7 separate regions of the Homo sapiens genome follow, and regions 2, 3, 4, 5, 6 and 7 are each linked to region 1. Evidence: promoter capture Hi-C in 16 types of primary human blood cells and fetal thymus (Javierre and others, 2016). All regions are on one chromosome and are shown on one strand. The core of a region is centred on a gene start or on the middle of the fragment in contact, and the rest is flanking DNA. Distances in the headings are between cores, read along the strand shown.

Region 1 (2,700 bases), core at 16-2,515:
CTCCCCCACCATCTCACCCCTCACTCTCAGAACACTTGGGGCCCCTGCACAGGTGGTAGGCATGCTGGCCCTGAGTGCCCTCCCAGCCTGTGTTAGAAGAACCAGTGGATGACCTCGCTGTCAGCTGTCTCCCCTTCTCTGAGCTTACTGCAGGTGGCAGCAGCCTCTCAGCCACAGACTGTTCCCTTTCCTAGGAGAAAACGATGGTCACTCAGCAATGCTGTGCGCTTGCAGCTTCCACCACAAAAGAGACAGCTGTGGCCGCAGCACCAGGGTGGTGATTCTTCCCCCTCCAAGGGCAGTGGTGCATTCCTTAGCACAAGTATAAATTTACTGTTGCTAAGAGTTCTCGGAACAGGATAATACAAGAAGGAACCACTGCAAGTGAAATCCAGCCACCAGTAATGCCGAGAGGCCAGGCCTGTGCCTCCCAAAACCTGCTCCTCCGCAGGCTTCCCCGGCCCATCTCCAGAGCGCCCTCCTCTCACCACTTTACATAAACGAATGTACCCAAGATCCCCCATCAGTTTTCCATGCAGCTGCCAGAGTGCCACCAAAGCAAACCTCATCTCAAGACTCTGTGGCCAGGCCCTCACAACCTCCTGCCAGGCTCTCGCTACCTACCCATCAACAGCAAGACTCCCAGGCCATCTCAATCCCCCCAAAGAGCCCTGTTCCTCCAGCCCCACGGCTTCTGTTCACCTGCCGTGCTGTCCCCGCCTCTGCCCACCCACTCATCCTGCAGATCTGGAGCAGCATTCCAGGGCCTGGTAAGTGTGCGCCATTTTGGGTTACTACGGGTCTCGCCAGGCGCGGTGGCGAGTTTTGCCCCCCACGCTCCCCAGCGCCTGCACCTGGGCGGAGAGGTAGATAAGGCTGGGAGATCTTAGCCTTTTGCAAGGCAAACACCAGGCAGGAACGCCCAGAACCTCGGAGGAGGAGGAGGGGAAGATCCCCAGGTGGAGACCAAGGTGCCCCTCACGCTGAGTCGTCTAGGAGACCCTCCCTAGTTTAAAAAGTGTTTATTTGCTCGGAGAACATTTCAGGAGGCCTTCCTGGGACCCCAAGTGTGCCGCCCCCCGGGAGGGGCCTGGAGACGCCCGCGCGGCCCCCCTGCAAAGTTTTACCGGCCCTGGGCGCCCCCGGCCCTGGCACCCACGCGGGGAGCCGCAGTGGGCCGGGCCGCGCGGCCGCCGCCTCCCACCGCTCCCGCGCCCGCTCCCGCCCCCGGCGCGTCTCCTCCGGGCCCGCGCCGCGGCGGGCTCAGTCCTCAGCGGGGCGCGTGGCGAGCGGACTCGACTCGGCACCGCTGTGCACCATGGCCCGGGCCCTGTGCCGCCTCCCGCGGCGCGGCCTCTGGCTGCTCCTGGGTGAGTAGGTCCAGGGGTCCCGGCCGAGCTCCCTTCCCCTGGCCAGCCGGTGTCCTCTAGGGGAGAGGAGGGGAGCGGGTGGGAGCGGGTGGGAGCGGGTGGGGGCGGGCGCCGCGGGCGCACAGATCCGCTGCCCTTGAACGCGGGCCGCCCCGGTTCCAGGCGGGAGGCCCCAGGGCACAGGGGAGGCGGAGGGCGCGGACCGGTGTTGCGCTTCTCGCCGGGGAAGGGACGGCTTTGGGGACGTCGGAGAGCGGGCATTCTGGAAAGCGTGGGGTGAGTCAGCCCTGCACACTGGAGAACTAGTTTTCAGAAGGAAAAACAGGACGCGGGGTTCCCCAGCCCCGCACCTCGTTTCTCAGGCTGTGCGCCGCGGTGACTGCCAGCGCAGGCTCCCTTCCCTAGGCCGTCCCGCGTTGCAAAACCTGCAGACGGGCACCTTGCAGAAGACGCAGTGTTCGGGAATCAGAACCACAGCCGGTTTGTATGGAAATTAGTCAACACTGACAATCTGTCGCCTGCAGCAGTTGCTTGTTTGCAAATCACGTCTTTTGCAGAAATGAGGCCAGCCCTTTTCGGGACACTTCCATCGCTTTTTTTCTTTTTTCTTTTGGTTTGCTTGTTAACTTGGCACTTTTGGCTAATAGAAATTTAAAGAAGGACGGGTCCCTTGGTGAAGTGGTGGAACACGTTTGGCTTTCCACTTGGAGGGAGAAGTGGAGATTAGCGGCAGCCTCATGGCCACAGGAACTGGCCACACACTCGGCAAGAAACGGTGCTGTTCACTTCCCTTGTCTGTAATGTGTTCCTAAAATGCTAACTCAAGCCCCTTCTAAACCGCTTTGGCTATTGCATTATTCCGTGTATTTAGCTACCTTTTAACGGAAACTGTGAATAGGTTACTGGCGTGGGAGAACCCAGTGTCCCTGGGAAGGCCGGAGCAGTTGTTTCTGGTATGTGTGGCCTTTCCCCGGAAACAGTGATGTTGGTCAGAGGCACCTGCCGCACAAGACCTCTTTGGCGCTGGCACTGGGCAAGCAGGGACCACCGGCGCTGTTGTAGCTGGGGGAGTGGTTCGTGGCCCAGCGAGGAGAGGGGCCAGGGCTTCTTGGGAGCCATGGATTTCTGTTCCCTATTTGTAAACCTCTCCAAGGGGTGGCAGATCTGCATAGAATCCTCAGAGGCCGATATAATATAATCTGAAAGCGGATCTTGCCACTTTAGAGTTTTGGCTGAAGTTACGTGGAAAGCAGAATCTCGCAGTAATTTTATTCTCTCCATTTGGCTTGACATGGCCTTCACTGTTTTCATTTACTAAGAAACAAACATT
Region 2 (2,810 bases), core at 153-2,652, 330 kb after region 1:
GGTCAAAAAACTAACCATTCACTGCAGAAGGCTAAGAAAAAAACCACCTGTATTTTTTAACTCTTGAGGAACAAATGTAGGTTTCCTATCTGATCAAAGGTAGGATCAGAGATAGATGTACATGAAAAGTAGGAGAAAGCACAGAGAAACTTGGAAATTCATTTGCAAAAAGGGAACCCTACTTATTTCTTAAATACAGACATAAAAAGAAAGTATTATTAGAAAGCTGAAACTGGTTTTGCTCTGGGTTGTTTTAAAATATGAAGTCTAATACATTTGTTTTCAAATTGTCTGAAAACCTTTACAAACTTTCTTTTCCACAAGCTCTTCACTGCCATTCTTCTCTTCCTCGGAGGTTTTTCTCTTTGCTCCTTTCCCTTCAGTCTTTACCATCTGGGATATTGATGTGGCAAGAGAACCTGGAAATAAAGTAAAAGCCAGACAGAAACACAGCTGTAGACTGTTGGAAAAAGTCACTAGTAGACTGGGCTTCATCCTAGCACTCAAAGACAAGGTCATTTGAAGCAAGGACTGGCAGACACAGGCAGACCCAGGAGTTGTGTCTTCATGGTTGGCGGGGAGGGGGAGGGGGGTCCCACAGTGAGAGAACATAAAGTTAAGATCCAGGCCCTGAGTCAAACTGACCCTGCTGAAGGGGTTTGTAAAAGACTTTTCCCAGTGGTAAAAATACATGGTTTTTTTTGGCCTGTAGCATATACATGTTTTTATATCCACAGGCTCTTAGTGTTAAACAAACACTTACAAAATCTGTAAGCAAACTAACATATCCTAATCACGTTCCAAAAAGTAACAAGTACTCGAAAAGGCTCAAAATGAGGTAAATGGCAGCCTTTAAGAACTGTAATACATCCTTTCAAAGGCAAAATAAGGCTGCCACAGCTGTTCCCACTAGCAAAAGGATGAATCTGTACTCAAAGCTAAGGGAATCTGCAGTGTATGTGTTTGAAATGAGAAAAGTCAAGTTTCAAAGAGGTGTGCAACTTAATCTTTCAGTCTCAGCTGTCTTCACCCGTGCGTAACATGGTAAGAATACTGTCATCTCAGAGGGATGTTTGAAAATGGGTCAGGACAAGTAGGAAGAGCATTTGTCACAGTGCCTAACACATCAATCTCCAATAAGGGCAGCTGCTGTCCTAATAAATGACTTGAAATGTTCTCTGCATTTAGGTATAAAAGTATGCAACAGCCAGATGCAGTGGCACATGCCTGCAGTCACAGCTACTTCTGGAGACTGAGGCAGAAGGATCACTTCAGCCCAGGCATTTGAGACCTGCCTGGGCAAAGTAGTAAGACGTTTCTCTTTAAAAAAAAAAAAAAAAAAAAAAAAAAAAGGATGCAAGTACTTATTTACTTACTCAACCTACTCTTTGCCAGACATTTCTTCTTCTTTTTGTTTTTGACACAGGGTCTCATTCTGTCACACAGACTAGAATGCAGTGGCATGATCACAGTTTACTGCAGCCTCCAACTCCTGTGTTCAAGTGATCCTTCCATCTCAGCCTCCTGAGCAGCTGGGACTGAAAGCAGGAACCACTACACCCGGCTAATTTTTTAATTTTTTTGGTAAACACAAGGTGTCTTTTTTTTTTTTTTGAGACGGAGTCTACTCTGTCGCCCAGGCTCGAGTGCAGTGACGCAACGTCAGCTCACTACAACCTCCACCTCCAGGGTTCAAGCAATTCTCCTGTCTCAGCCTACAGGAGTGCACCATCACACCCAGCTAATTTTTGTATTTTTGTATTTTTAGTAGAGACGGAGTTTCACCATGTTGGGTAGGTTGGTCTTGAACCGCCTGTGTCAGACATTTCTTAGTGCTGAGGAAAAAGTAATGAAAATGTTCCTGCCCTCAAGAAGCGTAAATTAGTTGCACAAGGCCCTATTTCTGCAACAGTATAACATAATACACATATGCACCCTGCATAAGGCAACACAGATGTTTCCAACAGTATCTCTCCCAAAGGTCCCCATTAGTGTCCTGTGGCTTACTGTATGGGTTCCAGTTTTCCCCATATGGATGTGAAACTTTCTTCCTTTAAAATTCCAAAACAGATGGCCAGGTGTGGTGGTTCACACCTGTCATCCCAGCACTTTGGGAGGCTGAGATGGGCAGATCATCTAAGGTCAGAAGGTCAAGACAAGCCTGACCAACATGGCGAAACCCGGTCTCTAATTAAAATACAAAAAATTAGCCGGGCATGGTAGCGCCTGTAATCCCAGCTACTCGGGAGGCTGAGGCACGAGACTCACTGGAACCCAGGAGGCGGAGGCTGCAGTGAGCTGAGATCTCGCCACTGCGCTCCAGCCTAGGCAACAGAGCAAGGCTCCATCTCAAAAAAAAAAAAAAGAAAAAGAAAAAGGCCAGGCGCAGCGGCTCATGCCTGTAATCCCAGCACTTTGGGAGGCAGAGGCAGGCGGATCATGAGGTCAAGAGATTGAGACCATCCTGGCCAACATGGTGAAACCCCGTCTCTACTGAAAATACAAAAAATTAGCTGGGTGTGGTGGCAGGTGCCTATAGTCCCAGCTACTCGGGAGGCTTAGACAGGAACTTGAACCCGGGAAGTAGAGGTTGCAGTGAGCTGAGATCGCAACACTGCACTCCAGCCTGCCAACAGAGTGAGACTGTCTTAAAAAAAAAAAAAGAAAAAGAAAAAGAAAAAAAGAAAAATAATAAAATTTCAAAATAAAGACACCTTACAGGTTTGTTATTGACTTCTAAGCAAATTACACTGTAGTCTGAGAATGTAGTCTGTACAAGAAACAGATCATTGAGGCTTATTTTATGGCTT
Region 3 (2,713 bases), core at 111-2,610, 450 kb after region 1:
GATGACCATAGCTGATTTTTGTCATCTACTGCTCAGTCTGGATTCCCCACTTCCTCTGCTAGCACCTCTGCTGCGCTTGGGCACCCACCTGGCAGGAGGACACAAACCCTCATCCCAGCCACTACACGCTCTTCAGGCTGCAACTGCTGTGCTTGTCCATTTCCCACCAAAACTGGGCAGGAGCGTGCCAAGTGATGCCCCAGAAGCCAGCTGTGTGCCAGGGTGATTCTCCTCCACCCCGGTTCCAGCAGCCCTTCCTGCTCTTGAGGATCAGAGCCAGTCACCCCTGCTGGGACACCGACTCCTTTCCTTGCTTGCTCGTCTTTTGGCACAGAGCCTGAGTGACCAGTGACAGCCATCGCTTATTGTCCACTGGATCCCCTGGTGGCAGTGTTCCCCCTCTAGAGAACAGGCCTCTAGACCTGCAAAGCACAACATGGAGGGGACGAGAAGTTCAAATTCACCAACTGGATCCCTGGAGGTCATGGTTGGGGGCTGTTCCTGCTTCTGCTCCTGGGTTCCCAGACCCATGCCTTTCATCAGCTGGAGACAGCAATTTATGATGGTCACTGATTTAGGGTATATTTTGTGTCTTAAAGGATGGAATCCCATCCTCAAAGGGTATTTTCTCCTCAGCAGAGCTAACAAGAGGACCACTCCATCACTCACCCAGATTGGCAGCATCTGAACGGCATGGTAAGGAATGGGCCCAGTGGAGCCCACGGTCATGTACCCAACACCATAGATCCTTTGCTGTAAAGTGAGTCTTTTTGGTCCAAAGCAATGTTATGTGGTATTCTATATCCATCGATCAAACATTTTATAAACCTCCAGATAGTGTTCGTAAGGGCAGGAAAGACAAATCCACACTTGGGATATCCAAATCCACACTTTGGGTCAGTCAAAATGAATCACTGCCTCACCTTTAGGGCAATATAATTGAGTTTAAGTCCAATGTAATCAACCTTCCACCTAGTGGCCAGTTGAGTTCCTCCCGGTGGCACTCTGCTGGGAGCTCAGCTTTGGTGTCTTGCTGTTAAGCTGGATGTTTAGCAGTTGCTGGAACTAACTCAGCCTTGGCGAGTTGGAGGCCATACTGTCAGGCCCACACCATCCTGCAACCCTGCCACCACTGCTACTCACTGAATGGCCTATGACAGAGGCAGGCTGACTCCGAACGGCCAAAGCATCTTCCTACATGGCTGCTGGGTGCCTTTTCCATGGTGGTGCTCTCTGGTGGCTGTTAGCAGGGATACAGAGACCTTCACATGCCTGTCCACTCCCATGGTCCTAGCTGCATGCATGACCCTTCCACTAAACTCCTGGTCCCCAACCTTTGAATTTTCCAGGCCCAGAGCAGCAACAGCCGTCTTTTGCCGCTGTCCATGGGTCTGAACATATTCTTATGCCAAGCCACTTCTCTTTCTACACAAAATGGAGAGCTACGTGTACTGCCTAAGCATGGTGGGCAGAACGGTGGGCCCCCACACACGCCCATGTCTGGAACCTGTACATCTGTTTTGGTACAGGGTAAAAGGGACTTTGCAGATGTCATTACATTGAGGATCTTGAGATGGGAACATTATCCTGGATTATCTGGGTGGCCCAATGTAATCATAAATGTCCTTATAAGTGAAAGAGGGAGGCCGGGTGTGGTGGCTCACGCCTGTAACCCTAGCACTTTCAGAGGCTGAGGCGGGTGGATCACCTGAGGTCAGGAGTTCGAGACCAGCCTGACCAACATGGTGAAACCCTCTCTCTACTAAAAATACAAAAAAAATTAGCTGGGCCTGGTGGCGGGCACCTGTAATCCCAGCTGCTCGGGAGGCTGAGGCAAGAGAATCACTTGAACCCAGGAGGTGGAGGTTGCAGTGAGCCAAGATCGCACAATCGCACTCCAGCCTGGGCAACAGAGCGAAATTCCATCTCAAAAAAAAAAAAAAAAAAAAAAGTGGAAGAGGGAGCCAGGAGGGCCAAAGTCCGAGAAGAAGGCGTGGCCATAGAAACAGACGTTAAAATGATGTCGTTTCTGGAAAGGGTGCATGAGCCAGAGAATGCAGGTAGCTTCTAGAAGCTGAAAAAGGAGAAGAAATGGATTCTCCCCTAGAGCCTCCAGAAGGATTACAGCCCTGACCACACCTTGACTTCAGCCCAGTAACACCCAGTTTCAGCTCTGACCTCCAGAATTGTAAGAGATTCCATTTGTGTTGTTTTAAACTCCCAAGTTTTTGGAAATTGGTTACAGCAGCAACAATGAACTAATACACCAAGTTTCTGTCCATGGGGAGATTGGGAGAGGCAGTCTGTCAGCACTGCCTTTCAGGGAGGCCCCGGAGTGAGGCTGCAGTGCAGCAGCTATCTATTTTTAGGCATTTTTTGCATCCCACACTGAGCCAACCCATGCATGAACCAAGCTCGGCCTATTTCTTCCTCCACTAGGTGGTCATAAGTGACACCGCCACCCAACACAGCAGTGATGAAGGTGAGGGACCTCCAGTGGTGCAACAGAGGCAGATGATAGGAGGGTCTTGTGCAGTTTATCTGTGGCTCTGGCCCTGCATAAGCCCAGTGCTGGATGTGCCCTTTCATCTTATCATAGATTTCTGTCGAGCATGCCTGACCTATGCCCTGGAGGCCCTGGCAGAGCCCGGCTCAAGGCAGGCAGCTCTAGTGGTGTGATCACCGCTTGGTGTCTTCCGCTCTGCTAGGGTGC
Region 4 (2,822 bases), core at 122-2,621, 380 kb after region 1:
ATGTACGAATGTTTTTTGCATTCAAAGGACATCCACATCTGTTGGAAGACTTTGAGTTTTTGTTCTTAGATAACCCACTTTATTTGAATGTGTTAAGTGAAATGATACTTGTACTCCCCCTACCCCTTTGTCAACTGCTGTGAATGCTGTATGGTGTGTGTTCTCTTCTGTTACTGATATGTAAGTGTGGCAATGTGAACTGAAGCTGATGGGCTGAGAACATGGACTGAGCTTGTGGTGTGCTTTGCAGGAGGACTTGGAAGCAGAGTTCAGCAGTGAACTCTGGTGTCTCAAAGAAGGGTAGAAGTTCTAATGTCTGTTAGCTACCCATAAGAATGCTGTTTGCTGCAGTTCTGTGTCCTGTGCTTGGATGCTTTTTATAAGAGTTGTCATTGTTGGAAATTCTTAAATAAAACTGATTTAAAAAAAAAAAACCAAAAATCTAAGTAAAGGGGTCGGAACTACATCTCCCAGGAGGCCCCGCGGCTCGCCTCTGGCGGGGCGGGGCTGGAGGGGGCGTGGTCAAGGCCTCGGCTCCTCCGAGCGCCTCCCAGCTCACGGCGCCCCCCGAACCCGGCTCCAAGGGACTCGGTATTCCCCAGCGCCGGCTCCGGGCAGTCCCGGAAGGGCTCAAGGGCTGGGCGACTGGCTGATCGAGACCGTCCGGGTCCTGGCTCTCGGGTCACTTGCAGAGGCCTGAGCAGAGCGTAGGGAGGGCTGGAAGGGAGGAGCCCCGGGGGGCGGCGGTGCTGAACCGGGTAGAGTCTTGAAGGTCACGGTCAGGACTGGAGTGGGAGGGGAGTCAGAGGCCTGCTGCGGAGGCCCAGGTTAGAAACGAGGCTGCCTTGGACTCGGTCGGTGGCAAAGAAGACGACACGTGGAGGCAGGGCTTAGAAGTAGAGCTCCGCCGGGCTTGGTGGCTCACGCCTGTAATCCCAGCACTTTGGGAGGCCTAGGCGGGCAGATCACGAGGTCAGGCGATCGAGACCATCCTGGCTAACACGGTGAAACCCCGTCTCTACTAAAAATAGAAAAAATTAGCCGAGCGTGGTGGCTGGCGCCTGTAGTCCCAGCTACTTGGGAGGCTGAGGCAGGAGAATTGCTTGAACCCAGGAGGCGGAGGTTGCAGTGAGCCTAGATCTCCCCCACTGCACTCCAGCCTGGGCGACAGAGTGAGACTCCGTCTCAAAATAATAATAATAATAATAAATTAATAAATAAAAATAAAAAAGAAGAAGAAGTAGTGCTCATGGGCTTGACTGATAGGACGTGGGATGGCAGGAAGAGGGTGAACTTGAGGGTGACATCTAGATTTTTTTGCTCAATCCATGGGGTACCAAGAAGTGGTAATGCCTGAGGATCTGTTGTTTTGGTGGTGGTGTGAGCCCATCTGACATCTAAGTGCAGTCACTGAGTGGACAGGAGGATACAGAGGAGCCAGCCGCCTGGAGAGGGGCTTTGAATCAAGGGCATGGGATTGGCAAAACGGGCCAGATGGTGTCACTGGGTGTGGGGGCGGCAGGGAAGGCTGAGGACAGAGCCTTGGGAAGAACACGTCCAGTTGGAGGGCGGCAGGGAAGGCTGAGGACAGAGCCTTGGGAAGAACACGTCCAGTTGGAGGTCGGCAGGGAGGAGCATTGAGTACAGGGGACTGAGGATGGCCGATGAGGTAGAAAGAAGGCTGGTGTGGTGCCCTTGAGACTGGAGAAGGAGCCTCCAGATGGATGAGTCATAACCCACGAGAAGTGAAGCTGACATGCGGACATGCCCACTGGGTTGGGAAACATGCTCGTTACTAGAGATTTTGACTGTGCAGTTCCAGTGGAAGGGTGGACAATAGCTTGATTGGAAAGGAATGAAGAGGAATGGGATGCGTGGAAGTGGAGGCAGTAAGTGTAGATGACGCTTTCAAGGAATTTTGCTTTAGAGCATTGAGACAGAGGCTAACAGTATGTCACATCCAGGGAGGTTCTTCCGAGTAAAGGTATTCATATTACAGCCCGTTTGTAGGTTAATGAGAATGATCCAGAAGGGAGGAGAAGCTAATGGTGCAGTGGAGAGCAGAGTCCCTGAGCAGGTGAGCAGGGATGGGGGCCCATGCCCATGTCGGAAGCGGGCGCCACACTGCTTCATGATGGAAGGCAGAACGCCTGGGCCAGGGTGCAGGCAGGTGTCACAGAGAATGTCCTTCATGACCACATCCTAGTTCCCAGAACCTGCGAATATGCTACTTTACATGGCAAAAGGGAGTTTGCAAATGTGATTAAGAATTAAGCTAAAGACCTTCATACAGGGAGATTATCCTGGATTCTCCAGGGGGCTGGTGTCATCACAAGGATCTTTAAAAGTAGAAGTAAGGAGGAGACGTGACCAAGGAAGAAGGGTCAGAGAGACGCAATGCTTCCGAGGAACTCTGAGGATGGAGGAAGGGACCATCCTCCAAGGAATGTGGGTGGCCCCTGAATGAAGAGGCAGGAGAAGGCACACAGCCCTGCCTGCCAACACCTTGATCTTAGCCCAGTGAATCCTGACAGACTTCTAACCCGTGGAACTGCAAGACAATAATCGTGTGTTTGAAGCCACCAAGAGTGTGGTCGTTGGTTTTGGCAGCCATAGAAAAGTAATACAGTGGGTCAGGGATCCGGGTGGGAAGGAGACAGCCCTCAGAGAAGGGATCCGGGTGGGAAGGAGACAGCCCTTAGAGAAGGGATCCGGGTGGGAAGGAGACAGCCCTCAGAGAAGGGCTTGTGGGGAGCCTGGGGGTGCTGGGAGAGGAGCTGGTGTGAAACAACCAGCTGGCTGGGAAGCTGGTGGCCCCAGGC
Region 5 (2,757 bases), core at 213-2,712, 360 kb after region 1:
ATGTTTGGTTTATAGATCTGCATGCTGCAGTGTTGGGTACATATATATTTACAATTGCTATATCCTCTTGCTGAGTTGACCCCTTTATCATTATATAGTGATGTTGTCTCTTTTTATAGTTTTTGTCTTGCAATCCGTCTTATCTAAGTATCACTACTCCTGCTCTTTTTTCAGTTCCATGCATATCTGTTTCCATCCTTTTATTTTCAGTCTATGTGTGTCTTTATAGGTGAATAGTGTTTTATGTAGGCAACAGACCATTTGGTCTTGTTTTTTAATCCATTCAGCCACTCTATGTCTTTTGATTGGAGTGTTTAGTCTATTTACATTCAATGTTATTATTGATAAGTAAGGACATACTCCTGCCATTTTGTTGTGTTCTAGCTGCTTTTGGTTTTCTCTTCCTTCTTTCCCTCCTTCCTGTCTCCCCCACACCCTTTTTTGGAGACAGTCTTGCTCTGTTTTCCAGACTGGAGTGCAGTGGTGCAGTCATGGCTCACTGCAGCCTTGACCTCTTGGGCTCAAGTGACCCTCCTGTCTCAACCACCTGAGTAGCTGGGACTACAGGTGTGTGATATCACATCTGACTAATTTTTTTATTTTTCCGTAGAGATGGGCTCTTGCTTTGTTGTCCAGGCTAGTCTTGAACTCTTGGACTCAGGCAGTCCTCCCACTCTGGCCTCCAAAATGCTGGAATTACAGGCATGAGCCAACACACCCAGCCCTGTCTTCCTTTTATTACCAGTGAGTTTTGTGCCTTCAGATGATTTTTTATTGCTCATTACTGTTCTTTTCTTTCAACAAAAGGGATTGATGAACTCTCTTTAGCATTTCTTGTAGGACTGGTCTGATGTTGATGAAATACCTCAGCTTTTCTTTGTCTGGGAAAGTCTTTATTTCTCCTTCGTGTTTGAAGGATATTTTCACCAGATTTACTATTCTAGGGTAAAAGGTTGTTTTTTTGTTTTGTTTTGTTTTTTTCTTCAGTACTTTAAATATACCATGCCACTCTCTCCTGGCCTGTAAGGTTTCCACTGAAAAGTCTGCTGCCGGACATGTTGGAGATTCATTGTATGTTGTTTGTTTTCTTTTATCTTGCTGTTTTTAGGATCATTTCTTTATCCTTGATCTTTGGGAGTTTGATTATTAAATGCCTTGAGGTAGTCTACTTTGGGTTAAATCTTCTTAGTGTTCTATAACCTTCTTATACTTGAATATTGATATCTTTCTCTAGTTTTGGGAATTTCTCTGTTATTATCCCTTTGAATAAGCTTTCTACTCCTATCTCTCTCTCTACCTCCTCTTTAAGGACAATAACTCTGACATTTGCCCTTTTGAGGCTATTTTCTAGATCTTTAAGGCATTCTTCATTCTGTTTCGTTCTTTTTTCTTTTGTCTCCTCTGACTGTATTTTCAAATAGCTTGTATTCAAGCTCACGAATTCTTTCTTCTGCTTTATCAGTTCTGCTATTAAGAGACTCTGATACCTTCTTCAGTATGTCAACTGTATTTTTCAACTCCAGAATTTCTGCTTCTTTTTAATTGTTTCAACTTCTCTGTTAAATTTATCTGATAGGATTCTGAATTCATTTTCTGTGTTATCCTGAATTTCTTTGAGTTTCCTAAAAAATGGCTATTTTGAATTATCTGTCTGAAAGCTTACATATGTCTGTCTTTCCGGGATTGGTCTATGGTGCCTTTTTAGTTCGTTTAGTGAGGTCATGTTTTCCTGGATGGTCTTGATGCTTATGGATGTTCATCAGTGTCTAGGCATTGAATAGTTAGGTATTTATTGTAGTCTTCGCATTCTGGGTTTGTTTGTACCTGTCCTTCTTGGGGAGGCTTTCCAGGTATTTGATGAGACTTAGGTGTTGTGATCTATGTTTTTGGTCACTGCAGCTGTAGCTGCATTAGGTACTACTCCAAGCCCAGTAACACTGTGGTTCTTGCAGACTCGTAGAGGATCTAAGATCTGGAGGAATTCCCTGGATTACCAGGTAGAGACTCTTGTTCCCTTCCCTTACTTTTTCCCAAACAAACAAAGTCTCTCACTCTGTGTTGAGATGCCTGGAGCTGGGGAAAGGTAACACAAACACCCCTGTGGCCACCACCACTGGGAGTGTACTGGGTCAGACCTGAAGCCGGCACAGCACTGGTTCTTGCCCGATGCCTGCTATAACTGCTACCTAGCTACCATCTGTGTTCACTCAAGGCCCTAGGGCTCTATGATCAGCAGGTGGCAATGCAAGCCAGGCTTGTGTCCTTACCTTGAGATTGCAAATTCCCCCAGGCCCCAGGTGAGTCCTGGGATCCAGGGTCTGGAAGCAGAAACCATAGAAATCTACTGTTGCTCTATACTACTGCAGCTGAGCTGGTGCCAAAACCACCAAACAAAGTCCTTCCCACTCTTCCCCAGGCAGAGGAGTCTCTTCTTATGTCCACCACCACCACAGGCCCACAGAGGGTACTGCCGTTGATGTTTATTTAAGGCCCAAGGGCTCTTCAGTTAGCTTGTGGTGAATGCTGCCAGCCCTGGAACTCATCCTTCAGGAAGTGGGCTCCCCTCTGGCCCAGGGTAGGTCCAGAGATGCCATCTCAAGCCAAGGCCTAGAATCAGGGACCCCAAGAGCCTGCTTGGTGCTCTTCCCCATTGTAGCTGAACTGGTACCTAAGTTCAAGAGAAAGTCCCCTTTACTCTTCCCTCTGCTTTTCTCAAGCAGTAGGGGGCCCTCCTCATAGCCACCACAGCTGTGAATG
Region 6 (2,700 bases), core at 153-2,652, 310 kb after region 1:
GTGCCACTAGTGTCTCTGGCCTCCCCTCATCAACTCAGTGCTGTGAATCCTGCTTCCGGGAGCTTTCCTTGACCCCTCCTGCTACTGCCTTAGTTCAGCCCTTCATCATCAGGCCAGGGCTGCTGCACCGCTGCTCACAGGCCTCCCTAGCCCCATAATGCCATCTTTAACCATCACCTGTTGAGGCCCTGCCCTCAGCCAGCACGGTGCCGTACCCTTAGGCATGGAGAACAGGAGATGAACAGGTGAACTGTCTCTTTCTCAACCGATCCTGGCTCTGTGTAAAAACCTATGATTCTCCACCAATGATCAACTAAAGTTCAAACTCTCCAGCATGGGGCTGAGGGCCGGCCCTTCAGGATCTGCCCCCAAAGTACCCTGCTATCACTTTCCCACCACTCCCTCCGTCCCTCAAGCGCCTGTCTGGCCATGCTTTCACACTGTCACATTTTAATGCCTTACTGTGTGTTCCCTCTGCCAGGAAGCCCCTTCTCCTCTCTCTGACAGGGATAACCCCTTCCCCTACTGCCAAAGACCCCAGCACACAGCACATGCCTAGGACACACTGGACTGCAGCTGCCCATCCCCATGTGTCCCCCCCTACCACTGTGGACCCCACCAGAGCAGAAACCACATTTTGTTTATCTCTGCACCCCCAGGGCCTAGCACCATGCACACCTTCCCTCCAACAAAGGCTTGATAGAAACTGGAAGTGAGGAAGAGAAATAAACCCACATGCACACACACCTGTGCCTCTTATAGGGCCTTTTACCTGTCATTGGGGGTCAGCTGGCAGCGTCTGATGTCGGGCACAGAGGTGACACCGCAGCGCTTGTACTGCCCGTCCCCAATGGAGCGTGACACCTCTAGCACGCCCAAAACACGCCCATCCCTAAAATGAGAGGAAAAACATTTCAGACTCTACCTGACAGATTATGGGTCCACAGTACTTAGAATCTCACCTTAAAAGCAGAGAATGGAAGTGTGAAAGATACAGACTGTGGAATTCACATTATTAACCACTACTGACATTTCTTGATCTCAAATATGCAGGGGTGTCTAGGCCATTAACTGCTGCCCTGGGGTAGGGACCCTGCCCAGCTGCACATGGGTGGGAACAGCACCTCCAGTGGCTGCCAAGCAGTGCTGCCCAGCTTAACCTTCGACAGGACTCAGCAGTTCTCATCACACACCTAGGTCCCAACTCCAGAATCGGATTTGACTGACTGGGTAAGGGAGCCTGGCAGTGTTTTGTATCTTAAAGCTCCTTGAGTGTTTCCCACATGCAGCCAGGGTTAACAATAGCTAGAACAGAGGGATATTTTGCATTTCAATCTAATTAGATTTGGAAAATCCCTGAAAGTGGCTATTCCTGGATTGTGGAGCACATGTCCTTTGCATCAAGTACAGGTACGGTTTAATGTTAATGTAAATGACAGTATCCTGCATAGCATCATAGTTTCACCCATTCTATTTTAGGTGAGGGGATATGGAGGAGATGGGGCAGTGATCTACAAATGGGAAGAGACATCTAAGGGACAGTCCTATTGCCAAGGAAAAACCATTTGGGGAAGCCTACTGCCCCAAAGAACAATTCTGGTCTAGGCTGCAGCACTGTCACCTTAGGCAGCTGCAAGCTCTCTCCCCTTCAGGCCCTTGTTTGTAAAGGCAAGGCAGAGAACCATACTCAACGTGTGAGAGAGCACTCCGCAAATGCCACGGCTGCGCATGGGCGTTTAAGATCACCACGGGGCTCCCAAATCATGGACCAAGCAAGTTCAGGAGATGCGGTGCAGATGGCTGCACATGGTAGGAAATGCTTCCTGGGCTGCTGTCCTAAAGGCAGAATTCAGCCTGGCCCTTCTCTGGGCCCCAGTTACCCTCTCAGTGGCTCACAGGTCAGTATCCGTAACAAACATGTTTTTTCTTCTTCAAAGACTTCTGCTGGTATCTGCAAAAAGCCTAGCGATCTTCTAGGATACAAACTGTTAAATAGCAAGAGGAAACAGTGCACAGGGGAAGAGCTGAGGACTGAAGATGGGTGGGGGCACCTGGCCTTAAGAGTGCCACTTCAGGAAGCAGCTCACAGTGTAAGTACTATGAAAAGCCAACAAAGTACCTCTCCCATGACCAGGTGACTGGGTGTCTGGTGTGGCTTCCGGCCATCCCAGTCATAAATCCATCCTGTTTCAACAAGATTAAGATTACAATCACCACGTCTGCAATGGCAGGTCCCAGAAGACCAAGTAGCTACCAGCAACTTCTGGTACTGCACAACACAGTACAGACAATGTGAAACAATCTCTAAGTCTAAAGAAGGACAATATGAGCAGCACAGGAACTGCCATCTCTCATTCTCTCTTTTTTTTTTTAAGAGACAGGGTCTCCCTCTGTTGCCCAGGCTGGAGGGCAGTGGTGCAATCACTCGCTGGGCTCAAGTGATCCTCCCACCTCAGCCTCCTGAGTAGCTAGAACTACAGGTGTCACCAAGTCCAGGTAAATAAAAAAAAAATTTTTTTTGTACAGATGGGGTGTTGCCCAGGCTGGTCCTTAAACAATTAGCCTCAAGCAGTCCTCCCACCTCAGCCTCCCAAAGTGCTGAGATTACAGGCGTAATGTGGCCTCATTCTTGTTTTCAAAGTTCCATATACAGAGTAGTAATCTTACATTCACTGAACTGCTAGAGTAACAGGAGAAAGC
Region 7 (2,706 bases), core at 86-2,585, 420 kb after region 1:
TCACACTCAGCGTTGCTCAGGTGGAGAAGAGTGGCTCTTGTGTGTGGTGGTGTAGTAATAGGGTATTTCTGGAGAGAAATTTGAGTTCCCAGCAACATTTATAATCTGCATACTCTTCCCACCTCCAGGAATCCATTGCAGAGAAGTGCTTATTTATGTGCTCAGAGATGTGTGAGCACTGAATATAAAAACCTGGGAAGAACCATCAACAGGGAGGCTACGCATCCTGTCCACGATCATCCTGGCCAGGAGCCAGCCTCCAATTCCAGACTGGTCCCCTGCCTCCACCTGGCCCTGCTATGGTTAACACAGCATCTAGAGCGATCCTGGTGAAGGGGCTTAGCTTACGCCCGGCCCGTGCTCAGACCCTTGCTCAGAGCACAATTCTAGTGTGCACAAGGGCCAAAGGCTCTGCAAGTCTAGCTCCTGCAATCTCCTGGGCATGTCCTGTTAACTGCCCACCCCTCAGCCCCAGCCCTGTGTGCTCTGACCACAGAGACTCTGCACTTGCTGCTCCCTCGTGCCCACAGCCCTCTTCTTGCAGATGCCTGGGCAGCCTGCATGAACAGCACCGTCTCCCCACCAGCTCCTTCTCTGTGCCTCCACCGCCGCTCTGTGGGCTTTCCTCGCCAGCACTGAGGGGCTGGGCTGTTTACTGCCTGCCTCCCCTCTGGGACCTAAGCTCCATGGGGGCAGGGGTTTGCGTTGGTCAATGCTGGATCCCCAGGGCCTGGCACGTACTGTTGAAGACACAAACCTGGGACATCCATACTATGAATACTATACACCCACTAAAAGGATAGAGGCCAGAAAGACTGATGTGGGGAGAGTCTCAGACATAGATGAACAAGTCCAAGAACAATAAATAACAACAACAATAAAAAGGACAGATGGCACTCAGGCAGGGCCTGCCCGGTGCCAGCAGTTTCCCACTGACTGACTTGCCCTTATTCGCTTAGCACTGAGGGCTGGCACTGGGGCAGACAACAGAGCAGACATCTTTCCTGCCCTCAGGGAGCTTACATTAGGGGGAAACAGACAATAAACAAGAAACTAGAATATACAGTAGAGTAGGCAACTAGCAAGTGGGAATTGAGGGGCTGGGAGTGACATTTCAATGAGGGTGGCCCCAGGTGTAGGTGGCATTTGACAAGGACCTTGCGCACGAGCCCTCGTGTGTGAACTGACTCAGGGTCCCTGGGCTTCGCTCTCTCAGGCTTGCAGCCACGTGCTTCAGCAGGTCTTTCTGGCTTCACACCTGAGGCTGGCACTGGGCATCTCTGGCTCTGCCTGCCCTGTGTGGACTCGGATGACGTGCCACACCACTGTGGGGGCCCTTGCTGCTCCTCACTGTCCTGCCTGCTGCCAAAGGGTCTGATGAGGCAGCTGGATAGGAGGGAGAGCTCGCTTGCTGGACAGGAGGCAAGGAGGAGCTGGCAGAAAATGCCCCCTCCCTCTCTCCCTCAAATGGACCTTTCTGAAGTTGTCTTTCTTTCCTTCCTTCCTGTTTTGGCACAGCCTTTCTGAAGAGGTCCCAAGGGGGTGAGCACCCAGCTGGATGTCTCTGTAAGGCAGAGCCTCATCTCAGCAGGGTGTCGTCTTGTGTGTGCTTTCCAGACTTTTCTTCCTTACCTCCCTTTTCCTTTTCTACTGCTACCCTGGGACTGCAATTCCCAGTAAAGTGCTCACCTCAGACTCCATTCTCAAGAGAGCCTGAAGGCAGACCTGAAGAGAGTGGAGAGTGAGCTACCAGAGGAAGAACATTCTAGGCAGGGGGACAGCACACACAAAGGCCCTGCGGCAGGCAAGCACCTGACCTGTCTGAGGAAGGTGCACGAGGCTGGAGCAGAGCGGGCAGCGGTAGGAGGGCGGCAGCAAGGCCAGATCACGGAGTGCCTTGCGGGGGCAGTCAGAACTCCGATAGGGAACTGTGGAGAGTTCTGTGCAACAAGATCTCACTTACACTTCAATGGAGTTGCAGGGTTGAGGCAAGGTGGAAGCAAGGAGACCTCTCAGGGTGCTCTTGCCATGGTTCAGTGGAGCTGCCAAGGGGCCGCCCAGGGTACCAAGGGCATTCTCTCACTCCTGACCCCTCAACACCCTGGACACCACCCATCTCATCCCCACAGCCCTCCCCCAGATAAGCAGCTGGTCCTTTCTGCTCTGAGTGAGTCATTAAGGTGATCAGAGGCAGCAGCAGAGTGGTTAAGGGCACAGGTCCTGGGTGGCCTGGGTTTCAGCTGGGTTCCACCACCTCCTATGTGATCTCGGACAAGTTCCTTAACCTCCCTGAGCCTTGTGTCCTCATTTGTGAGATGGGGTAACAGTAGTTCCTGCCTCCTACTGGTTGTTAGAAGGATTAAATGACACAACCCATGCAAGATATCTGGAATGTAATATTAGCTTATCACTGCTAATCACTACAGAAAAACAGACGGCGGCTGGGCGCGGTGGCTCACACCTGTAATCCCAGCATTTTGGGAGGCTGAGGCGGTGGATCACCCGAGGTCAGGAGTTCGCAACCAGCCAGACCAATATGGTGAAACCCGTCTCTACTAAAAATACAAAAATTAGCCAGGCGTCATGGTGTGTGCCTGTAGTCCCAGCTACCTGGGAGGCTGAGACAGGAGAATTGCTTGAACCCAGGAGGTGGAGGCTGCAGTAAGCCAAGATTGCACCACTGCACTCCAACCTGGGCAACAGAGC

Evidence for each region. Contacts are between HindIII fragments. The CHiCAGO score rates a contact against its expected background, and 5 or more counts as called.
Region 2: a contact is called between a fragment that was not itself captured here and the fragment with the promoter of RAMP1 in region 1, in 9 of 17 cell types (M2 macrophages, megakaryocytes, M0 macrophages and 6 more). The highest score is 8.9, in M2 macrophages.
Region 3: a fragment that was not itself captured here is called in contact with the fragment with the promoter of RAMP1 in region 1 in 1 of 17 cell types (M0 macrophages); the score reaches 5.5 in M0 macrophages.
Region 4: a fragment that was not itself captured here is called in contact with the fragment with the promoter of RAMP1 in region 1 in 8 of 17 cell types (megakaryocytes, M2 macrophages, M1 macrophages and 5 more); the score reaches 10.0 in megakaryocytes.
Region 5: a contact is called between a fragment that was not itself captured here and the fragment with the promoter of RAMP1 in region 1, in 1 of 17 cell types (endothelial precursors). The highest score is 5.2, in endothelial precursors.
Region 6: a fragment that was not itself captured here is called in contact with the fragment with the promoter of RAMP1 in region 1 in 9 of 17 cell types (megakaryocytes, M2 macrophages, M0 macrophages and 6 more); the score reaches 12.0 in megakaryocytes.
Region 7: a contact is called between a fragment that was not itself captured here and the fragment with the promoter of RAMP1 in region 1, in 8 of 17 cell types (megakaryocytes, M0 macrophages, endothelial precursors and 5 more). The highest score is 9.6, in megakaryocytes.

What each region holds. Positions count from the first base shown.
Region 1 is chr2:237,858,358-237,861,057 of GRCh38, forward strand. It overlaps RAMP1 (receptor activity modifying protein 1), which reads left to right and starts at 1,266. Exons shown (of 3, transcript NM_005855.4): 1 at 1,266-1,370. The coding sequence starts at 1,319. RefSeq lists an enhancer at 1-653. The HindIII fragment of the contact is 3,458 bases long and covers 1-2,700 here.
Region 2 is chr2:238,189,554-238,192,363 of GRCh38, forward strand. It overlaps ILKAP (ILK associated serine/threonine phosphatase), which reads right to left. Exons shown (of 12, transcript NM_030768.3): 4 at 300-419. Among named protein-coding and RNA genes, the nearest start is that of ILKAP, 13 kb to the right of the region's middle. The HindIII fragment of the contact is 4,260 bases long and covers 1-2,810 here.
Region 3 is chr2:238,304,160-238,306,872 of GRCh38, forward strand. No RefSeq gene overlaps it. Among named protein-coding and RNA genes, the nearest start is that of TRAF3IP1, 15 kb to the right of the region's middle. The HindIII fragment of the contact is 7,227 bases long and covers 1-2,713 here.
Region 4 is chr2:238,233,921-238,236,742 of GRCh38, forward strand. It overlaps the pseudogene TARDBPP3. Among named protein-coding and RNA genes, the nearest start is that of LINC02610, 3.7 kb to the left of the region's middle. RefSeq lists an enhancer at 322-823 and silencers at 524-653, 804-893. The HindIII fragment of the contact is 6,291 bases long and covers 1-2,822 here.
Region 5 is chr2:238,213,671-238,216,427 of GRCh38, forward strand. No RefSeq gene overlaps it. Among named protein-coding and RNA genes, the nearest start is that of ILKAP, 11 kb to the left of the region's middle. RefSeq lists a silencer at 2,547-2,757. The HindIII fragment of the contact is 387 bases long and covers 1,270-1,656 here.
Region 6 is chr2:238,172,762-238,175,461 of GRCh38, forward strand. It overlaps ILKAP (ILK associated serine/threonine phosphatase), which reads right to left. Exons shown (of 12, transcript NM_030768.3): 10 at 773-892. Among named protein-coding and RNA genes, the nearest start is that of ERFE, 15 kb to the left of the region's middle. The HindIII fragment of the contact is 8,961 bases long and covers 1-2,700 here.
Region 7 is chr2:238,281,723-238,284,428 of GRCh38, forward strand. All of the region lies in intron 1 of PER2 (period circadian regulator 2), which reads right to left. Among named protein-coding and RNA genes, the nearest start is that of PER2, 5.5 kb to the right of the region's middle. RefSeq lists enhancers at 534-1,034, 1,882-2,381. The HindIII fragment of the contact is 3,450 bases long and covers 1-2,706 here.